3 separate regions of the Homo sapiens genome follow, and regions 1 and 2 are each linked to region 3. The links are contacts of gene promoters, found by promoter capture Hi-C in blood cells and fetal thymus (Javierre and others, 2016). All regions are on one chromosome and are shown on one strand. Each heading gives the region's core, a stretch centred on a gene start or on the middle of the fragment in contact. The rest is flanking DNA. Distances are from core to core; before and after follow the strand shown.

Region 1 (4,277 bases), core at 1,346-3,845, 110 kb after region 3:
AATCTTTTTTTCTCATGTTTTCTATCTTACAGTACTTCTATTGCATTATTTATTTTATCAATTATATCTTTATTTTTTGAGACAGAGTCTCACTCTGTCACCCAGGCTGGAGTTCAGTGGCATGATCTCGGCTCACTGCAACCTCCACCTCCCGAGTAGCTGGGATTACAGACGTGTGCCACCACTTCTGGCTAATTTTTATATTTTTAGTAGAGACAGGTTTTCACCATGTTGGCCAGGCTGGTCTCGAACTCCTGACCTCAGGTGACCTGCCTGCCTTGGCCTCCCAAAGTTCTGGGATTACAGGTGTGAGCAACCATGCCCTGCCGATTATATCTTTAGATCCTAGGAGCTGGTTGTTCTTTTTCATAGCTTGTTGTTCTTGTTTTCCTTTGTTGTTTTTTTTATTTTAGAGACAGGGTCTCACTCTGTTGCCCAGGCTGGAGTGCAGTGGCACGAACACATTCACTGCAGGCTCGATCTCCTAGGCTCAAGCGGTCCTCCTACTTCAGCCTCCCAAGGAGCTGAGACTACAGGAGTGCACCACTGTGCCTGACTTTTTTTTTTTTTTTTTTTTGAGACAGAGTCTCACTCTGTCACCCAGGCTGGAGTGCAGTGGCGCGATCTTGGCTCACTGCAAGCTCCACCTCCCAGGTTCACGCCATTCTCCTGCCTCATCCTCCTGAGTAGCTGGGACTACAGGCGCCCGCCATCACGTCCGGCTAATTTTTTGTATTTTTAGTAGAGACGGGGTCTCACTGTGTTAGCCAGGATGGTCTCGATCTCCTGACCTCATGATCCGCCTGGCTTGGCCTCCCAAAGTGCTGGGATTACAGGTGTGAGCCACCGCGTCCAGCTGACATTTTTTTTTTTTTGAATTTTTATTAGTGACAGGGTCTCCCTATGTTGCCCAGGCTGGTTTTGAACTCCTGGGCTCAAGCAATCCTCCTGCCTCAGCCTCCCAAAGTGCTAGGATTAGAGGCATGAGCTACCCCGCCCCAGCCTTGTTCTTGTTCTTCATAGCCTCTTGGTTACTCTATTTCATCTTGCAGGCTTTCAGATGCCTGGGAATACTTCTTTTATTTTTAAGAATGAGCCATAAATACCTAACTGGGATTCTAGGAGCATGTACTGGGCTCGTTTATTGGAGGGATTTGTTCTAGGCTGATCTAGTAACCAGCTAGCAAGAGTGTAGATGTTAGAGAAGCATGCTCTAAATATTTGCTTGAGAGACAGATGCCTGCCTGCTAGGGTTTCTGTGTGTGGGTGGGGCAGGAGAGGGTGCAAGAAGGGTACAATGTTCTATCTATAGAACTTCAATTTATTTCCCAGTTTTCATGGGTGAGTCGTCTTTCCTCCTGTGGCTGTCCTAGCATTTCTGTGTCTTAGGGTTCTCTTGGGTTCTCAACTCTGTTCCCCACACACCCTTGCATATTCCACGCTGCAGCTTCCAGCACCTGCCTCACCTGTAACTACCTCTTCATTCACTTTCTTTCTCTTCAAAATGCATTGAAATTTCTCTTACATTGATAGCCTCTCTCTTATTTTCTGTTTGCTGTGGGTTTATAACTTTTTAAATTTTCTTTTTTTTTTTTTTTTTTTTGAGGTGGAATCTCATTCTGTCACCCCGGCTGGAGTGCAATGGTGCAATCTCGGCTTACAGCAACCTCCGCCTCCCAGTTTCAAGTGATTCTCCTGTCAGTAGCTGGGATTACAGACCTGTGCCACCACGCCCGGCTAATATTTGTATTTTTAGTAGAGACGGAGTTTCACCATGTTGGCCAGGCTAGTCTCGAACTCCTGAGCTCAGGTGATCCGCCTACCTTGGCCTCCCAAAGTGCTGGGATTACAGGCGCCAGCCACTGTGCCCGGCCTTAAATTTTATTTTCTATCATGAAATGGGTTCTTATGTAGGAAAAGACACAAACACATATTCTCTATCTTGAACTAGAAGTCAAAAGATAACTCTATTGTATATAAAGACTAAAAAAAAAAAAAAAAAATAGAAAAGGACTCCAACCATTTAGTACCACCTAGCTTCTCAGAGGGAAACCCTGTGCATGCTTCAGTCTGAGATGGATGTGACTATGAACATACTGTTCATGGCTATTCCCTGTCCTGGAGAAACCCATAGAAAAAGGGTTGAGATGAAGGGATCTTCCTGATAGAGTGGATGCAATAGAAATAGCATTGGCCAGAGTTGTGACCAGGGCTCAGATATTTTACAGGATTCTCTCTATTCTTCTCTATTCCACTCTTCTATCCCACCCCAATGATTCCTGAACATTTCAAGCAGAATCTCCCTCTCACTGGGCCCTTTCTCAAAGCTTTTCCATTGTTCATTGGCTTATTTCTCTTAAGAATTAGTCATGGTCTAGGCCGGATACTGTGGCTCAGGCCTGTAATCCTAGCACTTTGGGAGGTAGAGTCGGGCAGATCACTTGAGGTCAGGAGTTTGAGACCAGCCTGGCCAACATGGTGAAACCCCGTCTCTACTAAAAATACCAAAATTAGCCGGGTGTGGTGGCGCATGCCTGTAATCCCAGCTACTAGGGAGGCTGAGGCAGGAGAATCGCTTGAACCCAGGAGGCAGAGGTTACAGTGAGCTGAGATCGAGCCACTGCACTCCAGCCTGGGTGACAGAGAGAGACTCCATTTAAAAAAAAAAAGTGAGTAAACCAACAAAGATGTGACTTGAGATTGAAGCCAGTAGGTTAATGAAGGGAAATCCCAGTAGGCAACCAGTCCAGATTGGAGGAGGAAGGTGGAGGACTCCAACAGGGAGGGAGCTGGAGAATATGGAGTCAAGAAATTTGATCTCCTGGAGTATTTAGAGAAAGTTAAGGAGGTAATGAAAGCTTTGTTCCCTTCTGAAAAGCCATTGTCTTTCATTTCTAAAAAATTGCTTCAAAATCCTTTCCTGGTGAATCTACACTACCATTCTCTCCTCTTCTCTGTACCCATTCCAGGAAATGCTCAGGAGATGGAGCTCTCAGAAGAGTCTACCTACTCAGAACTTGGAGGTGTCACCAGGCACAGTGGCTCACGCCCGTAATCCCAGCACTTTGGGAGACCAAGGTGGGTGGATCATTTGAGCTCAGGAGCTTGAGACCAGCCTGAGCAACATGGTGAAACCCCATCTCTCCCCAAAATACAAAAATTAGACAGGCATAGTGGCCCGCATCTGTAGTCCCAGCTACTCTGGAGGCTGAAGTAGGAGGATCACTGGAGCCTGGGAAGTTGAGGCTGCAGTGAACCATGATTGCACCTCTGCACTCCAGTCTGGGTGACAGAGCAAGACTCCTGTCTCAAAAAGAAGAATAAGGAAAGGAGAAGGAGAGGGACAGAGAGAGGGAGAGGGAGAGGGAGAGGGAAAGGGAAGGGGAGGGGGAGGAGGGGGGAGGAGGAGGGAGGAGGAGAAGGAAAAGGAGAAGAAGAAGGAGAAGGAGAAGGAGAAGGAGAAGGAGAAATTAGGAGTGTGAGGCCTGAAACTTTCTCCCAGGGTTCTGTTTAAGAGAATTGATATATATGAGGGGAGGGGAGATGGGCATTGAGGTTAAAGGAAGTTGGGGTTGAAGGAAAATTACAAGGAAATGGAGAATTACATAATATCTATTCCCCAATTAGCTCAAGGCCCTTCTCCAATCAGCCATTTGATTTAAGTGGGGCTCTGCTCTCAAGTCTAAGGGTGGCCCATATAAGCCAGGCTTAAGATAAACAACACAAAGCACTCACCAATGACCTGACAGGTTAAGAGGCAACACTTGCCCCAAGATGTCCCATCACAGGGAGTCTTATGACTTTAGATGAAAAGTTGAGGCAAAGATTTTCACACTTTCCTACTGGACATGAATGTGGAATGATGTTGCCCCAGAAGTCGCCGACAGTCATATCAAAACCACAGGGGAGAGACACTCTCTCTGCGAATGAGACCAACACAAACTGGGGAGCAGAGCCAAAGGACAGAGGGGATCCATGTCCTGATTATGTTTCACAAGCTCCTGTCTCAGTTACACCTGTAGCCAGCCCTAATCTGGGACTTTTGTATTGCATGAGCCTATCAATCCACTTTTTGCTTACAATGAAAATAGTCTTGCATACAATGAAAATATTCTTAACTAATATAGATTGTATGTATTCACATATTGATTTTTAACTTTTAGATTGAACAGAATGTATTATGGCAAAAGAAGAGACTATCAATGTTTTTATTTTATTTATTTTTATAAGACAGTATCATCAAGCAATATCAGTGTTTTTAACTTGACAATGTTAAC
Region 2 (4,472 bases), core at 359-2,858, 120 kb after region 3:
GTCGCCACTCAAATCTCATCTTGAATTGTAGTTCCCATAATTCCCACGTGCCGTGAGAGGGACCCAATGGGAAGTAATTGAAGCATGGGGGCAGTTTCCCCCATGCTATTCTCGTGATAGTAAGTTCTCATGATATCTGATGCTTTTATGAGGGGCTCCCCCTTTGCTCGGTTCTCATTCTTCTCTCTCCTGCCGTCACGTGAAGAAGGACGTGATTGCTTCCCCTCCTGCCATGATTAGGTTTCCTGAGGGCTTCCCAGCAATGAGGAACTGTGAGTCAATTAAACCTCTTTCCTTTATAAATTACCCAGTCTTGGCTGGGCGCGATGGCTCACGCCTGTAATCCCAGCACTTTGGGAGGCTGAGGCGGGCAGATCATGAGGTCAGGAGATCGAGACCATCTTGACAGTGAAACCCCGTCTCTACTAAAAAAAAAAAAAAAAAAAAAATTAGCTGGGCATGGTGGCAGGCGCCTGTAGTCCCAGCTACTCCGGAGGCTGAGGCAGGAGAATGGCGTGAACCCGGGAGGCAGAGGTTGCAGTGAGCCGAGATCGTGCCACTGCACTCTAGCCTGGGCAACAGAGCGAGACTCCGTCTCAAAAAAAAAAAAAAAAAAAATTACCCGGTCTTGGGTATTTCTTCATAGCAGCGTGAGAATGGACTAATACAGTTGACCAAGCCTTGGCCAGGTCTGCATCACAGTTCAGTTTCTTCCTCTGCCCAATCCTGCTCCCTCCCGCTTCTCCTCACAGATATTGATCCCTAATAACCATCTTGCACCCACAGCTCTATCTCAGCTTCTGCTTCCAGAGAACCCATCCTGTGACAGGAGACAAAGTAGCTTGCTCCATCATCCAAGCAAAACAGATATGGGGTGGAGGGAAAGGAAAGAGTAGAAGTTTCATTGCCCACCAGAGGGCCCAGCCAGCACATCTATGGCCAGAGTTCACTCACTCGCCGTTCTATCAAAAATATGTGCTCTAGAATTACACTTGTCCCTTTGCTTTTTAAGGTTTTGTTATTTTGTCAGCATTCTAGTAAGGTTATATTTGAAGGCTGTCCAATATCTCAGATGAATGAAGAAGAAAAAAGAGTTTGTCTTATGCCTGTCCAGTTAGAAAGACTGGGAGCCTTCAAGCTTGGAAAAGGAGTGATGGTGGTCATCCCATTAGCTCTCAAGGAAGAGCCATCTGTGCAGCTGAGCATCTGGGAATTCCTTCCTGCCTGGAGTTTTCCTTCCTCCCTTTCATTTGTTTGTGCCTTTGGTTCAGTTATGTGAGAGTGCACCCTCGCACACATCACAGCTCAGAATGTATCATATTGGCTCAGCACTGTGTTGACTATACTTTCAATTCTTCTCTTCCTCCATACCTTAGGCAAACTTCAAGGATATCTATCACATGTGGATCTTTGTTTTTTCCTAGGAGCTGGGATTTTGTAGTGGTAAACAGTCTGGGCTTTGGATTCAGACCATTTGAGCCCCATTTTTGCCATTTACAAGCTAGGTGACCCTGGCCAAATTACTTAACCTTTATATATATATATATATACATATATTTTTTTTTTTTTTTTGAGACTGACATGCTGCATACTTCACTAGCAAGGCTGCTCCATTTTGGGTTTTTTGAATCTGTAAAGTGGAGAGAATCTCTTCCTCATAGGATTGTTGTTGGAATTAATGTAGCATAAGCAGCAAAAGCAGAGTCTTGCTCATAGTAAGCACTCAGTAAACACGTACACACATTTATTTGCCCATGAACAGACAGAGGGCTACTACCGAGAGACGCAGCTTTCAATGCCAGGGCTCATCCACCATCCCCACCCCAGGCCCCACCCTGCTCTACTAAGCTGGAGAGACGGAGAGAGGCTCTGATGCAGGAATCATTTTCATCTATCAGCTTTATCTATCAACATGAGCAGAGTGGACAGTTCCTCTGAGATCTGAATTATCACCTCCTGACCCAAAGTGCCTTCTCTGTCTTCTCCCTAGCACCAAGGCTGCAGAAAACAAGCAATGTGGAAGGAAGGAAGGAGAGGGAAATAAGGAGCAAGAGAGGGAAAGCAGTTGGCTAAGCTTTGTGCCCAGTTGGAAGAAGCAGAGTGGCAGTAGGCATGGGGTCTAGTAAAGGCTCGTGGAGCAAAGTCTTCATGATGAGTATAAGAGAAAATGGTTAAGTCATTTAGCCCTGGGTTCAAATTCTTGGTGCACTAAGTACTTGCTGGGAGAACCTAGTAAGTTACTTAACCCCTCTGGTTCAGCCTCATTATCCCCTCTTAGCCCCTCCCACTCTACACTTAATCCACACTGAACACTCAGTTCCTCAAACATGCATTGCCAAAAAAAAAAAAAAAAAAAAAAAGAATTGCACTCTTGCCTCTGCTCATTTGCCCGTAGGGTTCCCTTTACCTACAGTGACCCTATTCTCCAAGTGCCCCACCCTACATCAGCTACTGTAATCCCTTTCGTCTGGTCAATTCTAGCTCCTCCTGCAGAGCTCAGCTTAGATGTCACTTCCTTCAGGAAGCCTTCTCTGACCACTCGGCTTGCTATGTGCTCCCAGGGACACCAGAATTATCTCAATCGTGGCACTCACCACTCTCTGCTGACATGGCCTATTGTCTGCATGCCCCTCCAGAGCTCCATGGCTTCTTCATGACTACAGTTTCAGTAACCCATGCCTTACAGGTGCTCAATAAATGAGGCTGAATATTATTGAAACTTTGTAAGCTTTAGAGAGTTGGACAAAAGCCCAGCATAGGCATTGAATGCCAAATAATTTGTTGAGAAGAATGGAGTGGAGTGGAATGGAATGGAATGGTGAATATGCTGATTTTAATGCTATTTCACTGCATTATCCCAAAAGCCCACAAGATGTCAGTGTCTCTACTTGAGAAAAAATGTGGCAGTCTGGATGAAATTAAAAGCACTCCCTCTACCTGATGGCAGAAGTAGTTTAAAGTTAATATTGATATAGAAATAATAGGGATTGGTTGATTGGATTGAATATGTAATATGTACATATAGAACAGAATTCAAGTATACAGTGGAAAGTAAACTCTTCTTCCCTCCCTACTTCTGTCCCTTTTCCTCCAGCCCCACTTTGCCCAACCCATGGGCAACAATTTTTATTATACACATGGGATGGATATCCTTCTAGGGATATCCTAGGTATAAAACCACATAAGTAGATGTATATTTCTTTTTTTTTTTTTTTTTTTTTTTTTTGTTGAGACGGAGTCTCGCTCTGTAGCCCAGGCTGGAGTGCAGTGGCGTGATCTCGGCTCACTGCAAGCTCCACCTCCCAGGTTCATGCCATTCTCCTGCTTCAGCCTCCCGAGCAGCTGGGACTACAGGCACCGGCCACCACGCCCGGCTAATTTTTGTTTTTTTTTTGTATTTTTAGTAGAGACGGGGTTTCACTGTGTTAGCCAGGATGGTCTCGATCTCCTGACCTCATGATCCGCCCGCCTCGGCCTCCCAAAGTGCTGGGATTATAGGCATGAGCCACTGCGCCTGGCCAAGTAGATATATATTTCAAATAACACCAGTGGTTGTATACAACTGTTCTGCGCCTTGAACTTTTTTGTACCTAAAATATCTCGGTGCATTCCATATTAAAACAGTGTTACCCTGTTTAAAAAAATATTCCATTGTTTAGCTTTAATGTATTTGACCAATGTCCCAGTGATGGACATTCAGATGGCTTCTCATCTCTTTCTCTTACAAATATCTCAAACCATTCCTCATTTTATACACCTGCAAGTATATCTAGATTTTAAATTCCAATATTTTGATATTATCAATTAGCCCTCCATTGAAGTTGTACCTATTTACATTTCCAGCAACAATATGAGTGTTTTTTCTTTACAAACTTGCCACGCAGTTTTTTTTATATATATATATATATATATACACACATATATAATACGTAATAATACATGCAGTATATATGCCAGTCTGAGGTGAACTATATCTCATTATAGCTTTTTGAAACAGCTTTATTGAAGTATAACTGACATACAGTAAATTTCACGTTTAAAGTGTAAATTTGATGAATTTTGACATATGTACCCCTCTGAAACCATCACCACAATCAAGATGACTATATCCATCACTTCCAAAAGTTTCTTGTGCCCCTTTGTAAACCCTTCCTCCCACTACCCCTGTAATCCTATCATCCCCATGCAATCACTGTTCTGCTTTATGTTACTATATACAGTATTTGCTTTTATTTTCTAGAATCTTATAAAATTGGATAATACAATGTGTAGTCTGTGTTTGCTTGCTTGCTTATTTATTTGTAGAACTGACTTGCTTCATTCAGCATTAATATCTTGAGGTTCATCCATGTCATTGTGCATATCAATAGTTCCTTTTTATTGCTGAGTCACACTCCATTGTATGGATATACCACAATTTGTTTATCCTTTTATGTATTGATAGAAGTTTAGGTTGTTTTTGAAACCAATCC
Region 3 (4,606 bases), core at 2,065-4,564:
TAGCTGTCCTGCTCTCCCAACTTAATGGTTTCATTTTGCATTTTATTTAAATTTCACAATGATTCTAGCAGATACCATTAGTCTATTCTGCAGCCAAGTTGTCTAAGGTTTGGAGAGGTTAAGTAATGCACCAAGGTTAGGATTTGAGCCCTACCTGTCTGATTCCCCTCCGAGAGCTGTCTGATTCCTTTCTCCTCCTCTGGGATAGGGAAAGGAGACTCAGAAGGACGGGGTCTCCATCTTCAGTCTTTGCAAGACTATTGTAGGGCATTGGGATGGTGAGCACAAAGTGGGTTGAAGCCCCAGAGAAAGAGCTGAGAGCTGGGATCAACTGTGTGTGTGCATGTGTGTGTCTGTGTGTGTGTGAGTTGGAGTAGGGGGCAGGGAGAAAAGAGTGGGGTGGTGGTGGCTTGTAGTGCAGCTCAGGGCCACCAGGTGGTGTCCAGCCCTCGCTGTCCTCACCTCCCCAGAGGTCAGAGAAGGATATGGGAGGGGGTGGGGTGGGGTGAGGGGGACGCGGCGGGGACGGGGGGGACGGTGGTTGGTAGTCTCACTCCTGTCCATTCACCTACAGGTTGAGTATCCCTTATCCAAAATGCTTGGGGCCAGAAGTGTCTCAGATTTAAGATTTTTTTCGGATTTTGGAATATTTGCATATACATAATGAGATATCTTGGGAATGAGACCCCAGGCTAAACAGGAAATCCATTTATGTTTTATATACACACAGCCTGAAGCAGTTTTATATAATATTTTGAATAATTTTATGCATGAAACAAAGTTTGTGCACATTGAAGCAAGTGTGGAATTTTCCACTTGTGGCATTATGTCGGTGCTAAAAAATGTTTTAGATTTTGGAGCATTTTGGATCTCAGAACTTTGCATTAGGAATTGAGGACTAAGTCTGATATTCTGTCTTACCCAGATTCCTACCTAAGAGGTCTAGGAAGTCATGCCCTACAAACCATACATTCTCATCAGATGGGTTTTATTTGACCCTATATGTTGTGATTTACTTTTCAATCTGACTCTGGCATAACATTATGAGACAAGGAAAAAAATATTTAACCCCAAAATATATTTCCGTGCCATACCTTGAAATTGCCCTGCAAAGTCTCTTGTGGGAAAAATCCACATTCTATAGAGATTCCCCTTCCGCCTTTGTTTTCCTTCCTTTCTTTCCAGATCCAGGAGATAATCAACTAAGTAAGAGCCAGGCACCCTTTTAAGTCCGATAAGAGACAATTTACAACTTGCTCTGTCTGAAGTCTGCTATCTGAGAGCTTCCTCTGCACAATAAAACTTGGTCTCTATAATCCTTTATCTTTAAACTGAACATTCCTTTCTATGGATCCCAGGTCTTTAGACAAACTCAAACAATTGTCAACCAGAAAATGTTTAAATTTACCTATAGCCTGGAAGCCCCCCGCTTTGAGTTGTTCTGCCTTTCTGAACCAAATCAATGTATTTCTTATATGTATTTGATTGATGTCTCATACCTTCCTAAAATACATAAAACCAAGATGTATCCCGACCACCTTGGGCACATGTTCTCAGGACCTCCTGAGGGCTGTGTCACAGGCCACGGTCACTCATATTTGGCTCAGAATAAATCTCTTAAAATATTTTACAGGCTGGGTGCAGTGGCTCACGCTTGTAATCCCAACACTTTGGGAGGCGGAGGTGGGTGGATCACATGAGGTCAGGAGTTCAAGACCAGCCTGACCAACATGACGAAAACCCAGTCTCTACTAAAAAATACAAAAATTAGTCGACCGTGGTGGCAGGTGCCTATAATCCCAGCTACTTGGGAGGCTGAGGCAGGGAGGATTGCTTGAACCCGGGAGGCGGAGGTTGCAGTGAGCCGAGATCGCGCCACTGCACTCCAGCCTGGGTGACAGAGTGAGACTCCATCTAAAGAAAAAAAAAATTTTTTTTTACAGAGTTTGACTCTCCATCAACAGAATGCTGCACCTATATGACCCTCTCACACTCACAAACACAGAGGCATTCTCATGCTGACACATGCACACACACACATGCTCATTCTTTGACACACAGGCATGTTTACCTGCAGACTCCATACAGCATATACCCTGTACAGTACACACCCATACAGACTCATTCTTTGACACACAGGCATGTTTACCTGCAGACTCCATACAGCCTATACCCTGTACAGTACACATCCATACAGACTCCTCAGGGAAAATGGAAACTGTTTCTTGGAGGCCTCCAGCCTGTATAGCTGTTCTCTGAACAGAACTGAGGCCCATCAGTTCTACCTTAGTGAGATCCCTGGAGGTGGTACCTGCCTGATGAGCGGTCTCCCTCTGCAGAACGGTCCCTGGGAAGGCAGAGCCAGCCTTGCGTGTGAACAGGGATAGGCAGAAATGATGCTTCCCTCACCCCTTCTCTGTGCAGGAAATAACTACTAGAGAGCATTGCAAGGCTTGGTGCTGTGCTGGTGAGGGCGGACGTCATGACAGGGAGTGAACCCAGACCATGAAGGGGGCTTCCTGGAGGAGGGTGAGGTGAGGCAGGTCTTGGAGTTTGGATGAGGAGGACGGGAAAGGACTTGAGGACATTGCAGATAGACCAGGAAGGCAGGCTGGGAGGTGAGGAGGTGCAGGAGGCTGTGCTTCTCGGGGCTCAGTCTCCTTGAGACAGGGGTGGGACTGAGGGGTGGATTGGTTGGGGGTGTGCTGAGGAAGGATGGTGAGTAGATGCTATTTTCATAACCTTGGTTGCAGTCTCTTGGGAGGGTGCCAAGTCCAGGCAGGTGAAGGAGTTGAAGGTCTCCTCCGAGCAGGAGCTAAGCCCTCCCCCTCTAGTCTTAGTTTTTCTGTCCATAAACTGGGATGATGAACCCCGCTGGAGGTGGTGAGGGTCGGGGGCAGAGCAGAGCAGCCATTATGCTCAAGACAGGCTCTGGACTGCACCTGGGGAGAGAAGGGAGAATCAGGGTTGGGGCAGGAATGAAGGAAGGGGCATGGGAAATCAGGGGAGGAGGCAGCATGGGTGGTGTGGGAGGATCAAGGATGTCAGGGCAGGCCTCTTACCTGACTGAGGTTTGCACTCCTGGGTTCCCTGTCCTGAAACACAAAGCAAGAGTTGTCCCCATACAGCGAATCCCTGCTCTTCAGCACTCTTTGCAATGCCTCTGGGCTTTCCTTTCTATCCTGGCAGGATGAGTGTTGGGATTCCTCACTGGTCTTAGTTTTCCTGTCCATTAACTTGAAGGATGAACCCACTGGAGGCTTTCAGGATACAGAAGATGTTCTGAGAGGAAGGCTGCCCTGTGTCTGGGCAGCTGTGTGGGAATGAAGTCTGATAGACGGCACAGCCAGATTTTTCTCTGAGGGAATACCAAGATCAGTCCATACAGGAAACAAAGCACAACATCAAGTTTGGGGACTGGTGGGTCAGATGTGAGAATGGGAGGTGTGGCAACATCCTGCCAAGATGGCTGCCACTCTCAATCCCTAAATCACCCCTGGGAGAACTACAGAACTGATTGGGATGCATAGGATTCTAGGAAAAGACAACAGTGTTATAGCCCAACAAGTTCTTCTTGCCTGCTGCCCAGAAAGACTAATGCACTGAGAACAGCAGGTGCTGCAGCAAAGAAAGAGTTTAATAATCACAGGGCCAGCCAAGGACAGGAGATGTTTCTCAAATCTGCCGTCCTGAGAATTTGGAGGGTAGGGTTTATTAAGTATAGTTTGGTGGGCAGGGGACTAGGAAATGGGGAATGTTGAAGAATAAATCACAGGGAGTTGAAGCTGTCTTCTTGCACTGAGTCAGTTCCTGGGTGGGGGTCACAGGACTGGTTGAGTCAGTTTCCTGACTTAGGTTACTGGTCTGGGTGGTAACATCTGGTTCCTCAGAATGCAAGGTCTGAAAAATATCTCAAATACCGGTCTTAGGTTTTACAATAGTGGTGTTATCTATAGGAGCAATTGGGGAGGTTACAAATCTTGTGACCTTTGGCTTCATAACTTCTAAGCCATAATTCTAAACTTATGGACAATTTGTTAGTTTTATAAAGTTTTATAAAGGCAGTTTTGGTCCCCTTGCAAAAAGGGGGTTAGTTTCAGGAAGAGGCTATCATCATTTGTTGTTGTTGTTGTTGTTGTTTGAGACGGAGTCTTGCTCTGTCGCCCAGGCTGGAGTGCAGTGGCACGATCTCGGCTCACTGCAAGCTCTGTCTCCCGGGTTCATGCCATTCTCCTGCCTCAGCCTCCTGAGTAGCTGGGACTACAGGTGCCCGTCACCATGCCCAGCTAATTTTTTGTATTTTTAGCAGAGATGGGGTTTCACCGTGTTAGCCAGGGTGGTCTCAATCTCCTGACCTCATGATCTGCCTGCCTCGGCCTCCCAAAGTGCTGGGATTACAGGTGTCAGCCACCGCACCCAGCCTCATTTTTGTTTTAAAATTAAACTATAAACTAAATTCCTCCCATAGTTGGCTTGGCCTGTGCCCAGGAATGAGCAGACGATGTGCTTGTGAGGTTAGAAGGAAGATGCAGTCAGCTGTGACAGATTTCTCTCACTATCATTCTCAGTTTCTCACTTAATTTTTCCACGGCAGCCTGGGGTGCGC

What was found. The method cuts DNA at HindIII sites, captures the fragments that hold promoters and counts their contacts. A CHiCAGO score of 5 or more calls a contact.
Region 1: a contact is called between a fragment that was not itself captured here and the fragment with the promoter of LINC01537 in region 3, in 4 of 17 cell types (M2 macrophages, M0 macrophages, M1 macrophages and 1 more). The highest score is 6.8, in M2 macrophages.
Region 2: a fragment that was not itself captured here is called in contact with the fragment with the promoter of LINC01537 in region 3 in 1 of 17 cell types (M1 macrophages); the score reaches 5.1 in M1 macrophages.

Annotation. Positions count from the first base shown.
Region 1 is chr11:72,463,557-72,467,833 of GRCh38, reverse strand. No RefSeq gene overlaps it. Among named protein-coding and RNA genes, the nearest start is that of CLPB, 31 kb to the right of the region's middle. The HindIII fragment of the contact is 531 bases long and covers 2,330-2,860 here.
Region 2 is chr11:72,445,541-72,450,012 of GRCh38, reverse strand. No RefSeq gene overlaps it. Among named protein-coding and RNA genes, the nearest start is that of CLPB, 13 kb to the right of the region's middle. The HindIII fragment of the contact is 936 bases long and covers 1,141-2,076 here.
Region 3 is chr11:72,569,364-72,573,969 of GRCh38, reverse strand. It overlaps LINC01537 (long intergenic non-protein coding RNA 1537), which reads right to left and starts at 3,314. Exons shown (of 2, transcript NR_126364.1): 1 at 3,063-3,314; 2 at 748-2,942. The HindIII fragment of the contact is 19,866 bases long and covers 1-4,606 here.